Linked DNA regions of Homo sapiens: region 2 is linked to region 1. Evidence: promoter capture Hi-C in 16 types of primary human blood cells and fetal thymus (Javierre and others, 2016). All regions are on one chromosome and are shown on one strand. The core of a region is centred on a gene start or on the middle of the fragment in contact, and the rest is flanking DNA. Distances in the headings are between cores, read along the strand shown.

Evidence for each region. The method cuts DNA at HindIII sites, captures the fragments that hold promoters and counts their contacts. A CHiCAGO score of 5 or more calls a contact.
Region 2: a fragment that was not itself captured here is called in contact with the fragment with the promoter of NOG in region 1 in 3 of 17 cell types (naive CD4 T cells, non-activated CD4 T cells and naive CD8 T cells); the score reaches 8.1 in naive CD4 T cells.

What each region holds. Positions count from the first base shown.
Region 1 is chr17:56,592,250-56,595,420 of GRCh38, forward strand. It overlaps NOG (noggin), which reads left to right and starts at 1,450. Exons shown (of 1, transcript NM_005450.6): 1 at 1,450-3,171. The coding sequence starts at 1,975. The coding sequence ends at 2,673. RefSeq lists a silencer at 303-512. The HindIII fragment of the contact is 13,259 bases long and covers 1-3,171 here.
Region 2 is chr17:56,637,723-56,640,893 of GRCh38, forward strand. No RefSeq gene overlaps it. Among named protein-coding and RNA genes, the nearest start is that of NOG, 46 kb to the left of the region's middle. RefSeq lists enhancers at 455-955, 956-1,456. The HindIII fragment of the contact is 1,686 bases long and covers 762-2,447 here.

The DNA.
Region 1 (3,171 bases), core at 200-2,699:
AGTTACGTCACTAATGCGAAAAGTGAGAAAAATGACTTGTCCGAGTTATATCAGGGTGGACCCCGGGCAAGACTCAGGTGCCTCTGCTGTCAGCTCACCTTTCAAGTTTCTGGTCCCCACTCGCACCCACTGAGACCAGAGACCGATTTACCTGAGGCAGAAGGTGCTGCACGCATTCTTGTGAAATTTGAGGGGACCGAGAAGGAATCTCAGGAAGTTTGTTTACACTGGGGGCCTGGAGACCTTCGGGAAAATAGCCAGAACCAAAACGGACCAGTCAGCAGACGCAGACACACACAAAGTGACAGGGACACAGAAGCAGAAGCTGAACTGGGCAGAGCGGGCAGCGGCCGACCCACCTCGCACGGCCGCCCCCGCCAGCGCCAGGTGCAGGGCTCATAGCGGGCCAGCAGAGGGCGCGCCGCCCCCAGGGAGCCGAGCGGCGGCCGCGCGGAGCCGGGCGGGCTAGGGGAGCCGCAGGCGAGCCAGTCGCGCCCCTGAGGCTAGGCCACTCAGGGTGCAGGACCCGGCCAAGGAGGAGGAGGATGGTGAGGAGCGGAACCCCCTCGTGGGCCCGAGGGGCAGACAGACAGGAGTGCTTCCTAAGAATTACATCACGCTGCGCAACGCTGCGGCTCTCGGACTCCCTGGTGCAAAGGGGGGTGGGGTAGGGGCTGTGTGTGTGTGTGTGTGTGTGTGTGTATATATGTGTGTTGGGGGGAGGGGACTTAGAGCAAGAGCCCGGGAGAGAAGAAGACGCGCTCGGGGAAAACGCTCCATGCACATGGAGAAATTTCTTGCTCCGAACTGCATGCACCGAGAAACGAGCCCCCAGCACTTCCCCGCTGCTCCCCTCCCAGTGCAAAGCACCCAGCTAGTGAGAAACCCTCCAGCCCCACCTCAAGCACCGCCCCCCCTCCCCAAACACCGGCTCTGCACCCTCCAGCCCGGCTCCAGCGCCGCCGCGAGCTTTCCCCAGGACTGGCCCTGGCGGGGCGCCTAGAGCCCCAGTTGCATTGCTCCAGGAGAAAGGAGGGGGGCGGTGCATTTTGCAGGAGGAGGAGAAGGGGGGTGGGTGGTGGGGGAGAGAGAAAATTGCGCGGAGACCTGCCAAGCGCCACCGCCGCCGCCACCGCCGCTGCCGCCGCCGCCGCCGCCGCCTGTGAGCTCCGGCGGGCAGCCGGACTGTCGGCTTCCCGGGGCATCTGGGTCCGGCGGGGCACAGCCCTGGGCGCTGCCGAAGCCGCCGCCGCCGCCTCCGCGGCGAGTACAGGCGGCTTCCCCCGGAGCCTGTGCAGCTCCAGCTCCTCGGGGGTGGAGAAGTGGGGGGTGGGGTTGTTGTTTGGGGGGAAGAAGGGGGAGGGGGCAACGCCGAGAGAGTCAGTGGTTTCCATGGTGATGGAGCTGAAAGTGCAGGAAATTTAAAGGCTTGGACCCTGCGAGACAGACAAACCGGTGCCAACGTGCGCGGACGCCGCCGCCGCCGCCGCCGCTGGAGTCCGCCGGGCAGAGCCGGCCGCGGAGCCCGGAGCAGGCGGAGGGAAGTGCCCCTAGAACCAGCTCAGCCAGCGGCGCTTGCACAGAGCGGCCGGACGAAGAGCAGCGAGAGGAGGAGGGGAGAGCGGCTCGTCCACGCGCCCTGCGCCGCCGCCGGCCCGGGAAGGCAGCGAGGAGCCGGCGCCTCCCGCGCCCCGCGGTCGCCCTGGAGTAATTTCGGATGCCCAGCCGCGGCCGCCTTCCCCAGTAGACCCGGGAGAGGAGTTGCGGCCAACTTGTGTGCCTTTCTTCCGCCCCGGTGGGAGCCGGCGCTGCGCGAAGGGCTCTCCCGGCGGCTCATGCTGCCGGCCCTGCGCCTGCCCAGCCTCGGGTGAGCCGCCTCCGGAGAGACGGGGGAGCGCGGCGGCGCCGCGGGCTCGGCGTGCTCTCCTCCGGGGACGCGGGACGAAGCAGCAGCCCCGGGCGCGCGCCAGAGGCATGGAGCGCTGCCCCAGCCTAGGGGTCACCCTCTACGCCCTGGTGGTGGTCCTGGGGCTGCGGGCGACACCGGCCGGCGGCCAGCACTATCTCCACATCCGCCCGGCACCCAGCGACAACCTGCCCCTGGTGGACCTCATCGAACACCCAGACCCTATCTTTGACCCCAAGGAAAAGGATCTGAACGAGACGCTGCTGCGCTCGCTGCTCGGGGGCCACTACGACCCAGGCTTCATGGCCACCTCGCCCCCCGAGGACCGGCCCGGCGGGGGCGGGGGTGCAGCTGGGGGCGCGGAGGACCTGGCGGAGCTGGACCAGCTGCTGCGGCAGCGGCCGTCGGGGGCCATGCCGAGCGAGATCAAAGGGCTAGAGTTCTCCGAGGGCTTGGCCCAGGGCAAGAAGCAGCGCCTAAGCAAGAAGCTGCGGAGGAAGTTACAGATGTGGCTGTGGTCGCAGACATTCTGCCCCGTGCTGTACGCGTGGAACGACCTGGGCAGCCGCTTTTGGCCGCGCTACGTGAAGGTGGGCAGCTGCTTCAGTAAGCGCTCGTGCTCCGTGCCCGAGGGCATGGTGTGCAAGCCGTCCAAGTCCGTGCACCTCACGGTGCTGCGGTGGCGCTGTCAGCGGCGCGGGGGCCAGCGCTGCGGCTGGATTCCCATCCAGTACCCCATCATTTCCGAGTGCAAGTGCTCGTGCTAGAACTCGGGGGCCCCCTGCCCGCACCCGGACACTTGATCGATCCCCACCGACGCCCCCTGCACCGCCTCCAACCAGTTCCACCACCCTCTAGCGAGGGTTTTCAATGAACTTTTTTTTTTTTTTTTTTTTTTTTTTCTGGGCTACAGAGACCTAGCTTTCTGGTTCCTGTAATGCACTGTTTAACTGTGTAGGAATGTATATGTGTGTGTATATACGGTCCCAGTTTTAATTTACTTATTAAAAGGTCAGTATTATACGTTAAAAGTTACCGGCTTCTACTGTATTTTTAAAAAAAAGTAAGCAAAAGAAAAAAAAAAGAACAGAGAAAAGAGAGACTTATTCTGGTTGTTGCTAATAATGTTAACCTGCTATTTATATTCCAGTGCCCTTCGCATGGCGAAGCAGGGGGGAAAAGTTATTTTTTTCTTGAAGTACAAAGAGACGGGGGAACTTTTGTAGAGGACTTTTTAAAAGCTATTTTCCATTCTTCGGAAAGTG
Region 2 (3,171 bases), core at 355-2,854, 46 kb after region 1:
ATAGTGGCATGATCTCGGCTCACTGCAACCTCCACCTCCCAGATGCAAGCGATTCTCCTTGCCTCAGCCTCCCAAGTAGCTGAAACTGCAGGCGTGCACCACCATGCCCAGCTAATTTTTGTATATTTAGTAGAGATGGGGTTTCACCATGTTGGCCAGGCTGGTCTTGAGCTCCTGACCTCAGATGATCCACCCACCTCAGCCTCCCAAAGTGCTGGGATTACAGGCATGAGCCACTGCACCCAGCCAAAGCCATTTTTTTAATAGACAACATGAATCTTCTCAATGATGTCTTCTGCTTTATTCTGGCCAACTAAAAGCTCAGAAACAAATTTACTAAACAACTTTAATAATTGTGCAAGATTCCAAGTTGTGCATGCCTGTGTACTAACCCTGCCTTCGCTTCATATTTCTGTTCAGCCCTTCTTTTCTTTTTGCCATGGTTTCTTTAATACACTACATTTTTTAAAAGAGCTGTCTTGTCTCCTGTCTGGAAAGAAAAGAAGTATAAGGGATCAAATCAATCTTCCATTAAATAAATAAACAAAATGCAAACTTTGGTTTTATTCTCACAAAGCCTGTTGGGACAGTGATCATTGTCCTCAAGTTTTGGCTGAGAAGATTCTGGCACAGAGAGCTTAAGTAACTTACCCAAAGTCACACAGCTAATAAGGGACATGGCCAAGATGCTAACTCATGTTTTTCTGACTTAAAAGCCCATGCTCTTTCCACTGCCCTGTGCTGCCAGATATTACCCCCAAAGCTTTCCCTGGCCTCTTGATCTAGGAGGTCTCAAGGCCTCAGGACCTTTCAGAGTCCAAGAGTCGAGCATAGAACCAGCCACTGCTCCCATCTTCTCCCCTTTCACCAGGACAGGACAAGAGGACACAGGTGCAGGCTCCAACTCCACATCCCAATCCAGCCCAAGCCTGGCCAGTCTTGAGCCAGCATGTCAAGGGCTTGGCGCCTTCATTCCGGAGCCCGCATGTGCTGGGAGGAAAGCCTCATGCATGTGTTTCTGATTTGCATGCATCCCGCCTGGTCTCCACAGAGCCATTCCAAGTCCGAGAAGCTGTGGGAGCCTTTTTTATTTTTTTACACACACCCCCCTTCTCTTCCTATCCCTCTCTCTGACAGCTTTTCTCTTTGAATCAGAGAACTAGACTCTGCCAAGTGAAAATGTAACTCAAACCTCAAAGGGCTCAACAGCCTCTAGAAACTCGCAAGGCACGATCACCCTAGAGATGCAGCGCTCTGCTGTCGGGACTCCCGCTGGGCGCAGCTCTCTGCCTGCCAGAGGGTGGGGTGGGGGCAGGGGGAGACTGCACTAGGATCTGGGTATTTTTAGTTGATAATGATTTTAAATGGCCTTGAGCCTTCGGCCTAGAGGTAGGAGTGATTTCTCCACTTTATAGGCAAGTAAGTGAGACTCTGAGAGTTTAAGACCCCTTTATTTATTTAGCGCCTACTATGTGCTGAGTGCTATACATACACATCTCTCCATCCTCACAGTAATCCAGGAGGGCAGGTGGCAGCTTCCAAGGGGGTGCCATCTTCCCTTCATCACACAGCTTGTAAAAAGTGAAGTCTGAACTCAAACCCAGGACTATGTGATTCCAAAGAATTTTTTTCTACCGTGCAGCAGGGCATCCAGAGAAGGTGGGGAGCACCCCAAGAGCCGCTAGCAGGGAAATGGGGGCACGCACTTAAAACCACCCAATATTTCCCCTGAGCATCACAAACAAGCAAAAGATTCACCAAGCCAAGCCTGTTATCTATCTACTTGCCAGGGAGGAATTGAGCATTCCCGGCAGGTGAGTTTATCTGGAAATGGCTTTCCCAAGGAGGTGAGTCCTAGGCTGGACTGTGGAGGATGGGGAGCAGCAGCCACTGAGGGCAAGCGGCTAAAGTGAGCAGTATTTGTCTTTGAGACCCCTTTCCCGAGTCACCACCACCACCGCTGCCACCAAGACTGGCTACATCATTTCCTGGCATAATGCCAAATGAAAATGTGGGGCCTCATGTTCAAAAACTATTCTATTCAGGATGGTGACAGGAGAACATTAACCAAGCACAGAGCCCTGTGTAGCTGCTCAGGAGGATGCCCGTGAAGCAGGCCCTCGGTGACTCCCTCCATATCCACTTCAGAGCCTAGGAGCCACCTTGCAGATCATCCAGTCCCAGAAGCCCAGAGGGACTGCACAAGGCTTAGGAGCTCATAGGTGGTCTGGCAGGGACCATCCCCAACATACCTGTGTCCCCATCTAGGGCTCTCTCCAAATATGCCATTGCCTACCTAATCTGATCTCAAGCAGGCTTGTAAATACCTGTTGATTTAATTCCATTGGGGAACAAAAAGTGATATTCATTCACAACCAAGTGTGAATAATCAGTACCAGTTTAAACTGTGACCCTCCCACAGGGATTTTCATTTTCACAGAGATCAAAGCTTTAAGCTCAAGAAATACACTTCACTTGTTGGCCCTTTAGGCATCAAAGAGTAGATGAGGAGGGGTGCTGGGGACAGAAGAGATAAGGCATTTACCTGCCCCACCCATGGGTCAGGCCAATCCCAGAGAGGCAATACATAGAGAGGCCTGGAGCTAGATCTTAGGGACCCCTGCTGGCTTCTCGCAGTGGTTCAAACAAGGACTTAATTTTCATCACGAGGTCTTACTCCGGCTACTGGCCACTGCACTCTCCACCACAGCAAATCTCTCTCTATGCGAAGCTAGGCCTCCCACAACTTTGGCTTTTCCCCCAACCTTGGTGTGGGATCAATTCTTTCCCAAAACCAGAGGTGAAAAAGGAAAGGAGAGAGGGGGAGGAAACAGGATGGAGGGCAGATGGGAGGAAGGAAAGGGGGGACAGAAGAAAGGAAAAACATTCATTTTGCTTTTAATTGATTGTAAGCTTCATGAGGACAGAGACCATAGCTGACTTATTCCCCCGGAGTCTAAGGCAACCAAGGCAGCCCGTGCAATGCCTGATATACTATAGGTGCTCAATAAATATTATGGATGGGGGAACAGATGGACTGATAGCTGGTGGATGCATAGGTGTACATGTAGATGGATGGACATGTGGATGGATGAGTAGATGGATGGATGGATGGATGGATGGATGAATTGATGGAGAGTCAGTAGGTGAACGGATGAAAGGATGATGAAC